5 separate regions of the Homo sapiens genome follow, and regions 1, 3, 4 and 5 are each linked to region 2. The links are contacts of gene promoters, found by promoter capture Hi-C in blood cells and fetal thymus (Javierre and others, 2016). All regions are on one chromosome and are shown on one strand. Each heading gives the region's core, a stretch centred on a gene start or on the middle of the fragment in contact. The rest is flanking DNA. Distances are from core to core; before and after follow the strand shown.

The links. The method cuts DNA at HindIII sites, captures the fragments that hold promoters and counts their contacts. A CHiCAGO score of 5 or more calls a contact.
Region 1: a fragment that was not itself captured here is called in contact with the fragment with the promoter of BCL2A1 in region 2 in 6 of 17 cell types (M2 macrophages, naive CD8 T cells, megakaryocytes and 3 more); the score reaches 7.0 in M2 macrophages.
Region 3: a contact is called between a fragment that was not itself captured here and the fragment with the promoter of BCL2A1 in region 2, in 1 of 17 cell types (neutrophils). The highest score is 6.1, in neutrophils.
Region 4: a fragment that was not itself captured here is called in contact with the fragment with the promoter of BCL2A1 in region 2 in 1 of 17 cell types (total B cells); the score reaches 5.6 in total B cells.
Region 5: a contact is called between a fragment that was not itself captured here and the fragment with the promoter of BCL2A1 in region 2, in 1 of 17 cell types (neutrophils). The highest score is 5.6, in neutrophils.

Annotation. Positions count from the first base shown.
Region 1 is chr15:80,171,740-80,174,439 of GRCh38, forward strand. FAH (fumarylacetoacetate hydrolase) reads left to right here. Exons shown (of 14, transcript NM_000137.4): 8 at 410-509; 9 at 1,275-1,405. Among named protein-coding and RNA genes, the nearest start is that of FAH, 20 kb to the left of the region's middle. The HindIII fragment of the contact is 8,594 bases long and covers 1-2,700 here.
Region 2 is chr15:79,969,672-79,972,513 of GRCh38, forward strand. It overlaps BCL2A1 (BCL2 related protein A1), which reads right to left and starts at 1,525. Exons shown (of 2, transcript NM_004049.4): 1 at 1,029-1,525. The coding sequence starts at 1,448. RefSeq lists an enhancer at 949-2,148. The HindIII fragment of the contact is 17,831 bases long and covers 1-2,842 here.
Region 3 is chr15:79,824,692-79,827,579 of GRCh38, forward strand. It overlaps LOC124903536 (a long non-coding RNA gene), which reads right to left. Exons shown (of 2, transcript XR_007064730.1): 2 at 1-2,888. Among named protein-coding and RNA genes, the nearest start is that of MTHFS, 71 kb to the right of the region's middle. The HindIII fragment of the contact is 2,720 bases long and covers 258-2,888 here.
Region 4 is chr15:80,115,014-80,117,713 of GRCh38, forward strand. All of the region lies in intron 2 of ZFAND6 (zinc finger AN1-type containing 6), which reads left to right. Among named protein-coding and RNA genes, the nearest start is that of FAH, 37 kb to the right of the region's middle. The HindIII fragment of the contact is 861 bases long and covers 839-1,699 here.
Region 5 is chr15:80,144,174-80,146,873 of GRCh38, forward strand. No RefSeq gene overlaps it. Among named protein-coding and RNA genes, the nearest start is that of FAH, 7.5 kb to the right of the region's middle. The HindIII fragment of the contact is 2,021 bases long and covers 372-2,392 here.

The DNA of each region.
Region 1 (2,700 bases), core at 163-2,662, 200 kb after region 2:
ACGTGAGCCACAGTGCCTGGCCTGGTTTTTCATGACATGAATACAAACCCTGATAGTTTCAGTTTTACAAGCCTCATGTGGCTGTCAAGTCTTGAAAGGCAAAGGCTGTATGGGATGAAGAGGAAAGAGCAGAGTGGCCTGGGATGCACTGAAGGGAGGGGAGGCTGCTTTGGAGCTCAGGGGAGTGGAAGGAAGGCCGATGGCGGGGGCAGGGCACACCACTGCACTCTGCTTTCCTGAGGCGTCCATCTGACCTCTGACTTAGAAACACAGTGGATTCATGCCAGGCCCCTGTGGCAGTCCTGGTCCATGGCTGGAGTTTGGAAATACCTGACCTTTGCTCTCTAGGTGACAAGTGACCTGGGCGGCAGATCAGCTCCAGATTCTAATGAACTCTCCCCCATGTAAGGCTTTTTTTGTAGGCCCTGGAAACAGATTGGGAGAGCCGATCCCCATTTCCAAGGCCCATGAGCACATTTTTGGAATGGTCCTTATGAACGACTGGAGTGGTAATTACTGGAGCTCTGCTCCTGTAGAGATGACGGGGAGGAGGCTGGGGACTTGGGGCAATTTCATAGAAGCTGAAGATCTGGTGCAGGTCAAAAGTGGCAGGTGATGCAGTGACTGAGAGTGGGGGTCTGGGTATCAAACAGACTTTCAGCTCTAAGAACTCGGGCCACTCACTTAACTCCTCTGAGCTCCAATTTTCTCGAGTGGCTAGGGACACGGCTGACATCATAACTAATATTTACTGAGCACTTATGTGTCAGGCCCTGTGCTTAACACCCTTCGTATATTCTCCCGCTGATCCCTACACGGTATGTGCAATATTATCTTCCCATTTTACAGATGAGGAACTGAGGCACAGGGAGATTTCAGTTAGTTGCTGAACTAAGATTTGAAGCAAAACAGTCCAGCTTCTGAGCCTGAGCTCTCAACCCTTTGCCATACGTGGGAGGAAGATGGCACCATAAGCCCCAGAAAGTGTCTCTCTCATAGTTTGAGAATGAGCTTCCAGCCCCTTCCTGGGAGATATCCTGACCACCGTTTGGTCATCCTTCTCTTTGCTGTAACCTGGCACAGTGCCCTCAAAGGACCTCTGTCCTTGGCATTGAATGCTCTTGCCCCTTTGTCCTGGGGCAGCCTGACTGGGGCTGATCTTTGTGGAGATGGCAGTGCTAGGTGTCTCTGCTCCTTGGTCAAGGGCAGGAGGGGGTCGTTGGGAGATGCCCTGATCAGCCTTTGTAAGTCCTGGCTGTGCCCTTCTTCTGCAGCACGAGACATTCAGAAGTGGGAGTATGTCCCTCTCGGGCCATTCCTTGGGAAGAGTTTTGGGACCACTGTCTCTCCGTGGGTGGTGCCCATGGATGCTCTCATGCCCTTTGCTGTGCCCAACCCGAAGCAGGTAAGCACATTCTCTGCAGGAAGCTCCCAAACCCAGCCCTGCTGCCTCTGAGGCTGCTTGCCCACTGAGTGGACATGCCAGGCATGCAGACCATCAGGAGGGAAGCTCTGTGCCCACGGCATGCCCACAGCAGAGTGCCTGGGAGTTCCTGGCCACGATTACTTCCAGGCAGCCAGGGCATCATTCTCCCTTGTGGTTTCCCTGGCCCTGGCACAGTTCTTGGAGAAAACACAGAATTTTGTAACCTTAAGAATCTTGCAAGACCCGGGGGATCTGGCCAGTTGGCAGGAGGAGTCCCTGCAGGTACCAACATTGCACAACCTCCCAGGTGGCCATCAAATCTTGTTCTGTGCAAATGGCGCCACCTGGACCCCAACTCATAGAATGCAGCTTGGAGCCCAGCAACAGGGAGTCCCTGCAGCCTCTGGTTCCCGGCACCGCTTGGTCTACCACTGGGTCTAGGCCTTGACCCCTGGTTCCAGTCCTCCCTTCTCAGCCTGTTGCAATCTGCCCCACTCCATCACTGGCAACACCTGGCCAGAGTCACCTGTGACCCGATAGTCAGTGTCATGACCTTGTGTCCCCTTCAGCATGGACTTCCTGTGGCCCCTCACTCTTGTTGGCATTCCCTCACCCCTTGGTTTCTGGCATGTGACCTGTCCTCGTTCTCCAGTGTCTCTGAGTCCTCACGATGCCCCTCTCCAATTCTGACCTCCCTGTGGGGATCCAGGCTGAGCTCCCAGCCATTTGCACATCCTCGCTTGAGCATCTCACCACGCATTTGCTGGGGGCCTCTACCAACACCCGGTGCTGGTCCTGCACCCACACTGCTCTCCCATGCTCCTCTGCCTCTGGGGTCATCTCATGTTTGCTGTGCTACAAACAACCCTGAGGTCTTTCCTTGCAAGCCAGTTCTAGTGAAGTCCTGTGGGGCTTTCACCCTCATCCCTTGCTCTCTCCTCGCTGCTCCCTACCACAGCACCCCCTGCCCACCCTGGTCATTTTCAGTCGCCAGGACTTGACTTTCTCTCTAGCTGGCAGCGGCCTTGTCTAGTCTCCCTAGGGCTGCAAGGCCACAGCCTCTCTTTGCTTGTCCTCCAGTCATCTGCCTTCTTCCGGGTCGGTCATCACAGGGTTTTGCCTGCCTTCCTCTGTGCCAGCCCTTCCCCAACACCATTTAGGTACAACACTACTATTCCCCCTCTGAACTATTATTTACTTAATGTTTTCCTTCAGAGTGGCTCCCAGTTTAAACTTAATATATTAAGAAGGGAACTTTATATTCCTACTGGCAT
Region 2 (2,842 bases), core at 275-2,774:
GTATGTGTTATATGGTATAACATATATGTTATGTAAAACATATACATAAGCATACATATACATTTTATATAAAACTTTTTTTACAAAAAATGTTTTACAAAGAAGTATTGTTTATTTTCTATGGATAGATTCAGTAGGCATGTTTTGCATGCAAAATAATTGATAACAGTGGTTACCTCTTGGGAGAGGTGAAGGCCGTTGGAGAGAGGATCAATGAACACTTAAGTGCTTTAAAAAAATAATTATTAAGTATATTGGAATATAAAGGAAACCATATACATCCAGCTGTGTCAGGCTTTTTACCAACATGAGTTTCAACACAGGCCTCTACATAGTCTTGGCTTTTTTAGGCACTGATAATAAAGTAAATTTTTATTTGAAAATTCTTGAATAAAGGTTCTTGCTGGTCATACAGTATATTATGTTTTAATCAACAAACTTTAACAGCCCGGAATTTATTATTAGTAATAATGTGTTATATATTATATGTAATGTAATTTGCTATATATTAATATATGTTACTATTTATTATGTATTAGTAAACTGAAAAACACCAATTTGTAAGCGATGAACTTACAAAAATTTACACCTGTCTTTTGCAACCCATAAATACCTAAAAATAACAGCATCTGATAGCAACTTTCTGTGCTGATTGTAGAAATTTCTGTACTGTCTGTACTGTCATGACAACCCTAGCAAAAGCTAAGTACTAGATTAGAGTGTGTGCACAGCTGATTGTGAAGCTGCATGAGAGAGGTGCTTTATTAATCCCCAAAGCTCACTACTGTAATTTATACTGTTAAGAATAAAAACTGAAAACATAAGTGCTTTCCAACTATAAAGTTCAAGTTCAAGGATTCATTGGAAATAAGCCAGAAAGTATATTTTTATTTTAAAAATTAAAACAAACCACCCAAGGAAAATAGTATTCTTAGGTAAAGTGTTTTGTTGTTGTTTTAACTAGCAAGGAAATTCTCAATTTCTATTTCACAGGAAAGAACAATGAAGAATTTTTCCATCACACATACCCAGCCTCCGTTTTGCCTTATCCATTCTCCTGTGTTATTCATTATGAACTCCGCAACAAAATATGAAATCTCCTTATAGGTATCCACATCCGGGGCAATTTGCTGTCGTAGAAGTTTCTTGATGAGAATACCTTCAAATGCAAATATGGTTACAATTCTTCCCCAGTTAATGATGCCGTCTTCAAACTCCTTTTCCATCACTTGGTTGAATAGTGTTCTGGCAGTGTCTACGGACACAACATTAACATTGTCCAAGCATGACTTCAGATTCTTTTCCACTTCTTTTTGGACTGAGAACGCAACATTTTGTAGCACTCTGGACGTTTTGCTTGGACCTGATCCAGGTTGTGGTATCTGTAGGACGCACTGCAGATAGTCCTGAGCCAGCCTGTAAATATATCCAAATTCACAGTCTGTCATCTTCTGCCTGGTGGAGAGCAAAGTCTTGAGCTGGCTCACCTTGAAGCTGTTGAGGCAATGTGCTGAGAATGCTCACTGAGCTTGACTGAGTTATGACACATGATGATACATGGAGGCTGGTGGAATTTCTGTTTGCATCACTTTATAATATCCTTCCTCCTAGTCACTTTCGTGCGTAGGCTGTGTTTCATGTCATGTATGAAAGAGAAAGTTTAAAATGTGAAAGAGGAAAATGTTTCAGAGAAGCCACTTCCTCATCCTGTGATTAATTCAGCTTTGCAAGTCTTAAATGCAGGATGTGGAGAAATTAGAATCCTTGTAGATTGCTGGTGGGAATGTGAAATGGTACAACCCCTGTGAAAATGTTGGCAGTTTCTCAAAAAGTTAAATACAGAATTGTCAAAAGACCCAGCAATTCCATTCATAGGTATACACCCAACAGATACTCAAATACTTACATACGAATGTACATGGCAGCACTATTCACAATAGCCAAGATGTGGACACAACTCAAATGTTCATCAACAGACGAAAGGATAAATAAATTATGGAACATTATTCATCCCAAAAAAGGAATGAAGAACTGATACATGCTTCAACAGGAATGAACCTCAAAAACATTAGGCTAATAGAAAGAAGCCAAACAGAAAAGGTCATACATTATGTGATTCTATTTCTATGAAATATCCAGACAGTTAAATCCATAGGATAGAAAGCAAATTGGTGGTTGACAGGGGCTGAGAAGAGGAAGGAGTAACTGCTTAATGGGTAGAAGGTTTTCTTTTGTGTGATGAAAATGTTTTACAAGGCCGGCCGCGTTGGCTCACGCCTGTAATCCTAGCACTTTGGGAGGACAAGGCGGGCGGATTGCCTGAGCTCAGGAGTTTGAGACCAGCCTGGGCAATATGGTAAATCCCCGTCTGTACTAAAATACAAAAAATTAGCCAGGCGGGTGGCGTGTGCCTGTAATCCCAGCTACTCGGGAGGCTGAGGCAGGAGAATTGCTTGAACCCGGGAGACAGAAGTTGCAGTGAGCCAAGATCACGCCACTGCACTCCAGTCTGGGCAACAGAGCGAGACTCTGTCTCCAAAAAAAAAAAGAAAAGAAAATGTTTTGCAGCTAGATAGAGGTGGAAGTTGCACAACACTGCGAAGGTACTAAATGCCACTGAATTGTTCACTTTAAAATGGTTCTGTGAATTTCAAATTTAAGAAAAGTCTTAAACGCCATCCACGGGGTAAACCGGAGTAACGACAATTTGGAATGGAGACTACAAAACAGCCTGGGTGGCAGAGAACAGGGCCTCTCGAGGTGACTCTGGCAGTACCGCCCTTGATCATTTGTAATTGAGTAAGGATGATACCGAGAGGGAAGAAAAAAATACCCTCTTTGG
Region 3 (2,888 bases), core at 368-2,867, 140 kb before region 2:
CACTCCTAGAGCATCCCCTCAACCTGGAGCAGTTCTCTCAATCACTGTTTTCTGGCTTTTTCAACACTTCTCCTAGGCCTGTTCCGGTCCCGCCTTGACCTGCTCCCAACCTCCCCATCCTCAACTACTAACTGACCCCAGACCCAACCTTGTGGATCATCTGCCCTCCAGACCAGCTGTAACTCAGCCACTGCACCAGGTCATTAGCCAGGCTACTCTAGTTCCTTCAAATGCTTGCCTTCCAATAACCCTTAAGAAGCTTTTCTTTGTATCACAGTACATGAAAATAAGGTTAGTTTCTCCATTGGAGAGGAGCCAGCAGGGGTGAGAAAGGGTTCCAGAGACGAGGGTCAGAACTGCACTCTAGTCCTACCACTGGTAGCTGGAAAAAGAACCTAATTTGGAGATACCGAATTATCAAGTGATAGTAAAATAGCCAACAGCCCACAAAGTGCTGATCTACAAGGCACAGATGTGAGATCAAAGTAAAACAATGGTTAGCAAAGGGACTGGTAAAGCACTGAACAGACATGAATGCTGCTACGCGTGGCCAGATCTGCTTTATAGATGAGGAAACTGCCCATCAAAAGAGCCAAGGTGACCCGTCCAAAGCCTCACAGAGAACAAGAGGCAAATTCAGGACTAGAATGCAGGCCAGTCTTCCTACATGCTAGGAATCAGTATTTTTGTTTTCTTCTTCTCTTTTTTAATAATCATATTACTTAGATTTTTGTGTATGATAAAACACACAAGACAGACATGGTAACATTTTGCATCCATTGATCTTTTTTCTATGCTGGTTCCTCCCCACCAAAATACAATTATTGTGATACACTGCTTTTATTTTATTTTTTTAAAAAAGAGCTTGGACATTCTTCCTCTTTAAATATTTGTGTATGATGTTTTTAATGACAACAGAGTGTACAACTGGCATGAATGTAGCAACCCCTTATTATTGTATGGTTGTATTTCACTGGGTAGCAGCAGTCATCACTATTACAATAAAACAGCCTCATGCTGAATATACTTGTATAGAACTTTTGCAAATCGCATACATTATTTCACTGGGATGAATTCCTGAAAGTAGAATGACAGGGTCAAAAGTCATAGAAAATTATAAGATTTTTGTTATATTCTGCCAACTTTCTCTCCAGAAAGACTAAAAAACATACACTCTCCCAGCAGTATGAGTGTCCATTTCCCTGCATCATAGCCCAAACTTAACTGGTTTGATTATTTTTTACTACTCACATGGTTTCAGCTTGCATTTCTTTGATGAAATGTGAAATTAAATAGTTCTTATATTTGTGGCTATCTGTGTCTCCTCTTGTGTGAATTACCTGTTTATGTCCTTTGCCCCTTTACCACTGGGCACACTTCATTGTTTTCCTACTGATTTGAGTAGCACTTACTGGGTAGCCACGGACTAGGACAACCATAGACCTCCAAAGTGGGAAGCATCCTCACATGAGCCAGAGAGAACCACAGGAACTGGTCTTGCTAGATAGCCCTGAGAAAAGGAATTGGACCATTTTGCCCTCCTGCATGAGCTCCACTTCTGCTGACAGCTGGTCCTGGAGAAGGCTGAAGCAGTTGAGGGAGGGTCCACAACAGGACACTACTGCCTCTGTTCTGATTCTGGAACGGGGGAAAGAAGATTGGGGTGGAGGTGAGGAGAAGAGAAGGGAAGGACAAGAGAAGAAAAGGAGAAAAGGAGGTGGGTGAGAGACGAAGGGGAGGGAGTTGGTGCAGGACAGTGGGGAATCCACTGGAGAGGAGCCAGCAGGGGTGAGAAAGGGTTCCAGAGACCAGGGTCAGAACTGCACTCTAGTCCTACCACTGGCAGCTGGAAAAGAACCTAATTTGGAGATACCCTCAAGCAGGCAAAGGAAACTTACATTAGTGGAGGGAGGAAGGGAAGGGGCAAGTGACTACTACAATTCCCAAGCCAAGTACCCTGGGCTTATACCTGATTCCCAGAATCCAAGTCCCTTTCCACAATATCCCTCTGCCTTCTGCATGAAAGCCATCGCAAATTAATGTACCTCTAAGAGGCAAATAACTTCCTCTTAGATTGAACTGCTAGCAAAAGACCAGTCATTTGTCATCTCTGATTAAAATGTCCATGGAAAAAATTAGAAATAATTCAGCAAAGAGAGCTACCACTCTCTCTTTGGAGAGAGTTACAGAATGCAAACTAAAGTCGAAGGTGGTGGTAAAGGCAGCATGCTGCCCCTCTGCATATCAGAATAACCAGGCTCCTTCCTGCCACTATATATACAGGGTTCATTGGGTGGGTGGGGTCACTAGGGTCACCAGAATATGCAACCAGAGCAAGAAGGACTCTAAAGAGCCACTTATTCAGTGCTTCTCAAGTGTGCCTTTGTCAGAAGCACTTGCTAGCACAACAAATCAGTCTTTTTTTTCTGGAAATTCTGGTTCAGTACATCTAGGATAGGACCAGAAAAATCAACATTTTTAAACAACAGACTAAGGTGGTTCTTATGATGTGGCAAGGAGTTGATTTTGTCCAGTGCATCTTACATTCAAATCACCCAAAGAGATTAAAAACCACTATCAGGGAGTTCCATTTCTGCCTTTGATAGGCTAATATATTCAGATCAACTCTACTACCAAGAACAAATAGAAATGCCCTGTTTGAACGCATCAGAGAGCTATCAAATGTGGTGAGGTCTTACGGCACCAAGATCTCAGAGAGAAAGAAAGCACAGAACTGAACCTGATATTTGGCACAGCTTTTTGCCTCAAAGCATTTGTTGATTCTTAAGAAAAACTTAAAAGCTGAGAAGTTGTGCTTTGTAGAAACTGATCAGTGAAGAAGCCAAGAGGAGAAATGAAGTAGAAACTGGCAGCCAGGAGTCTACAAA
Region 4 (2,700 bases), core at 19-2,518, 150 kb after region 2:
TTTTGTTTTTTAGATCAAAAGACACTGACTTAGCTGCTTACCAGAAGGGGAACTTGGGCAAGTTACTAAGTCTTTTTGAGTATCATTTTTTTTTGTTTTTAAAATAGGGATATCAACAGCACCAACATCATAGTGTTCTTGAGAGGATTAAATGAGATATAAATAAACAATAAAAAGAGTTCCTGGCACATAGTAAACTCTGAATAACTGTTAAGTATTGTCTGGGATGTTAGAGGGAGTAATAGGTTGGGGATTTGACTACGAATGTTATGAACAGTCAAAAGTCACATTTTATGAATTCTCTTCAATTCATAGGCTTTTGTTTATTATACCATGCTAATCATTTTTAAAGTATCTGGTAGAGTGATCTTACTCTCTGTCTCTGGATTTGTGGTTTTATAATTCCACAGTGCAGCAGTTAAGGAATTGTTCTGCCTTTTCTCCCCTTATCCCTTTTCCTCCCTGATCATTTGAATGCCAGACTGATTGCCCCAAAAAGGTATAGTAGCAAAGGGAGGGAGGCAGGACTTCCAGTTTCTTCATAGCTACCCCATCTATGCCATTACACATTCAGATAAACTAAATTACTCTTTATGGTTTTTTGTCTTTTTCAGTCTTTCTGACTCTTCATGTAAAGGTACATTTTATGGCCTAACGATTAATAAATAAGACTGATTCTTTTTTTTTTTTAAGAATCCTGTGAGAAACCCTTTGTGCCTCTTGAGTTATGAAAATCATTGTTAATTTGATGCCGTGCAGGCAGTTTGACTTGGGAAAATTGGTAGTGTTACAAGTTTTCAAACTTTAATCTTAATGTTTTGAAGTAATTGTAATGAAAAGCTTAGTGGTCATATTGTACTTTCATCTATGACTTTTTACTTGAGTTTTTATGGAAATATATTTATCCTTTTACTGTTTGGTTGCTAGCCATATATTTACCAGTATCATTGGGAGAGTTCCTTTAATTCCTCTCTTACACTTTAATGTTGTTAATAAGCAGTATAGCATAGTTGGTGGTTTAGACCCGAGTTCCTCAGTCTTTTTTCTCTATTTTTTCCCTAAGGAGCCTTTTTAGGTTTTTTTTTTGTTTTTTTTTTTCTTAAGTGGCCCCCACCTCCAGAAGATTTTAACTCCAGAGAGATATTGCAGGTCTGTTTATGTATTTTATGTATATCTGTGTTTTATACAAGAGTAAGGGTTTTTGTGACCCTTTCCTCCAAAAATCAGTGTTTTCTCCCTTGAGGGGCAAACTGTCTATACTGAGAGTGCACGTTTTATAAGCAGTGGATTCTCAAAATTTTGGTGTAAATATCCCGAAGGGCTTTTGTGTGTGAGAGTTATATCTAGTGAAATCATATTAAAAATTAAAGCTGAGAAAATGTTTTAAGTACTAGTTTATTTTAAAATATTTTAGGAAAATAACCACTTTCCTCTCCCCCACACTTGTTAATGAGAAGAGTGGCATTGTTAACACATTTTTGCAGATTTTTTAAAAAGTCTGCCTTAATAACAACATTCTAGTAGTTGCTTTGGCATTCAATCTGTTATAGTGTTATAAAGAAAATCTGGGCTCATATGTATTTGGAAAGAATATTTTAATAACATTATCAGATAATAGAGGTTCTTTGATATTACACTAAAACTTGACGATAGTTTCTTAAAGGATAGTTGCAGTGTGAAATTGAAACCATACAAGACAAGCTTGTTCAATCTGTGGCCCAACACAAATTCATAAACTTTCTTAAAGCATTATTTATATATTTATTTATTTTAGTTCATCCACTGTCGTTAGTATTAATGTATTTTATATGTGGCCTAAGACAATTATTCTTCCACTGTGGCCCAGGGAAGCCAAAAGATTGGATACCCTGATATAAAACTTTTTGTCCTGTTACATTAAAATTCATTGGCTTTTCACTTTGAATGGATCTTCTGTTCATGAGTAATTTCTTACTATTTCTTGCTAAGCAACCAACATTGGTTGCTTAGAAAATACTGATTCAGTGTCTTAGGATGATATTTCAAATATTGATATAGTAGCAACTAATCACATTTAATTAATATCACCATGAATCTTATCAGAAACTCTCAGAATATTGGAGATGCTTGTCAAGGTTTTTTTCACTTGACTGTTGTCTTTGATAACAGATACTATTAGATGTTTGAAGTGATGAGTGCACTTTGTTCATTTACAAAAATATCTACTGAATACTCTTTTTTTTTTTTTGAGACGGAGTCTCGCTCTGTTGCCCAGGCTGGAGTGCAGTGGCACGATCTTGGCTCACTGCAAGCTCCGCCCCCTGGCTTCATGCCATTCTCCTGCCTCAGCCTCCTGAGGAGCTGGGATTACAGGCTCCTGCCGCTATGCCTGGCTGATTTTTTGTATTTTTAGTAGAGACGGGGTTTCAATGTCTTAGCCAGGATGGCCTCTATCTCCAGACCTCGTGATCCTCCTGACTTGGCCTCCCAAAGTGCTGGGATTACAGGCATGAGCCACCGTGCCCAGCCTGAATACTCAGGTCTTAATAACCAGTTTATTAGTCATTCTTTCAAATAAGAAACGTGTTCCATGAAAAAGGCAGTTCAGTCAGCTCACAACTCAAACAATTGCACAGTGCTTTTTCTTCAGTCTTCATACTTCTTTACACAACAGGAGTGCTTCATGCATGCTTCCCGGTTTGTCATGTAAAATGTTAAGAT
Region 5 (2,700 bases), core at 132-2,631, 170 kb after region 2:
AGTCTTTTTCATAGGAATACTTTTTCAAGCAGTAGTGATCAGCTGTACATTTACATGCAAAAAAAGTCAATCTAGACACCTTGAACCTTTCACAAAAGTTAACTCAAAATTTATCATAGACATAAATGTAAAACACAAAAATGTAAAACTTAGAATATAAGAAATTCAAGGTTTGGTTTCGATTTTTCTAAGTAAAACACTAAAAGCATAACTTGGGAAAGAAAAATTATTGATGACTTGGACTCTGTTAAAGTTAAAAACTGCTCTGCAGAAGCTGCTGTTAAGAAAATTAAAAGACAAGCCACAGACTTGGAAAAAATTAGCAAAACACATAAAGGGCTTTCATTTAACATATACAAAAAACTCTTAAAAGCTTAATTGTATGAAAACAGTCCAACCTAAAAATGGGCAAAATATCTGAATAGATATCAAAGAAGATACACTGATAGCAATTAAAAAAAAAAAAGCCTGCAGCCTCAGCTACTCAGGAGGCTGAGGTAGGAGAGTCACTTGAGGCCAGGAGTTTGAGTTTGGTCTGGGCAACATAGTGAGACCCCATTTCTAAAAATTTTTTTTAATGATTTAATAAAGTATACTTGGTTAAAAAGCAAAAGTGTCCACACAAAAACTTGCACACTGACATTTTAGCAGCTTTATCCTTAATTGCCAAAAATTGGGAGCAACCAAGATGTCCTTCAATAGGTGAACAAACAAACTGTGGAACATTTATACAGTGAAACAGTATTCAACAAAAATAGAAAGGAACTTTCAGGGCAGGAAAAGACATAGAAGAATCTTAATGCATATCGCTAAGTGAAAGAACCCAATCTTAAAAGCTACATACTATATGATTCCAATTATATGACATTCTGGAAAAGTCAAGACTACAGAGACAGTAAAGAGATAAGTGGCTGCCAGCGGTCCAGGGGATGAATAGAAGTAGCAGAAGGGATTTTTGGAAATTAAGAAAACAATCTCATTTACAATAGCTACCAAAAAACCCCCAACCAAACAAAACACTTGGGAATAAATTTAACCAAGGAGGTGAAGGACCTGTACACTGATAACTAGAAAACATCAATGAAAGAAATTGAAGAAAACAGAAATAAATGAAAAGATATGGCCAGGCGCGGTGGCTCAAGCCTGTAATTCCAGCACTTTGGGAGGCCGAGGCAGACAGATCACCTGAGTTGGGAGTTCGAAACCACCCTGCCAACATGGAGAAACCCTGTCTCTACTAAAAATACAAAATTAGCCAGGCGTGGTGGCGCATGCCTGTAATCCCAGCTACTCTGGAGGCTGAGGCAGGAGAATCGCTTGAACCTGGGAGGTGGAGGTTGCGGTGAGCAAAGATCGCGCCACTGCACTCCAGCTTGGACAGACAACAAGAGCGAAACTCCGTCTCAAAAAAAAAAAAAACAACATAAAAGATATCCCATGTTCATAGATTGGAAGACTTAATATTGTTAAAATGTCCATACTACCCAAAGCAATCTACAAATTCAATGGAATCCCTGTCAAAATTGTAACGATATTTTTCACAGAAACAAACAAACAAATCCTAAAACATGTATGGAACTGCAAAAGACGCTGAATAGCTAAAGCACTCTTGAGCAAAAAGAACAAAGCTGGAGGCATCACACTATCTGACTTCAACATCTACTACAAAGCAGCCAGATGTGGTGGCTCATGCCTGTAATTCCAGCACTTCGGGAGGCTGAGGCAGGAGGATCACTTGAGCCCAGGAGTTTGAGACCAGCCTACACAACATAGCTAGACTCCATCTCTACATTTTTTTTTTAAATATTGGCCAGGCATGGTGGCAGATGCCTATAGTCCCAGCTATGCAGAAGACTAAGGTGGGAGGATCACTTGAGCCACTGGGAGGTTGAGGCTGCAGTGAGCCGTGATCATATCACTGAATTCCAGCCAGAGAACAGAGCAAAACCCTGTCTCTAAAGCAAAGCAAAACAAAACAAAATGAATCTACTATATAGCTATAGTAATCAAAACAACATGGTGCTGGCATAATAACAGACATATTGAACAGAATAGAGAGCCCAGGAATAAATCCACAGATTTACAGCCAGTTGATTTTTCACAAAAGTGCTGAGAATACGTGATGGGGAAAGGACAGTCTCTTCAATAAATGATGTTGGGAAAATTGGATATCCACATGTGGAAGAATGAAATTAGACCCTTATCTCACACCATATATAAAAATCAACTCAAAATGGATTAAAAACGTAAACTTAAGAAATGAAACTGTAAAACTAGAAGAAAATGGGAAAAGCTCCATGTCATTGGTCTGGGCAATGATTTTTTGGATATGAACCCAAAAGCACAGGCAACAAAAGCAAATACAGACAGATGCGATTATATCAGGCTAAAAAGCTTCTGTATAGCCAAGGAAACAATCGACAAGAAAAAACCTAGGAAGTGGGAGAAAACATTTGCAAACCACACATCTGATATGGAATTAGAATCTAAAATAAATAATGAAGTCAAACAACTCAATAGCAAGAAAACAAGTAACCTAATTCTTAAAAAATGAGTAATGGATATGAATAGACATTTCCCAAAAGACATAAAAATGGCCAACAGGTATGTGAAAAAATGCTCAACATCATTATCAGAAAAATGCAAAATAAAACCACGATGAGATATCATCTCACACCTGTTAGAATGGCTATTATCAAA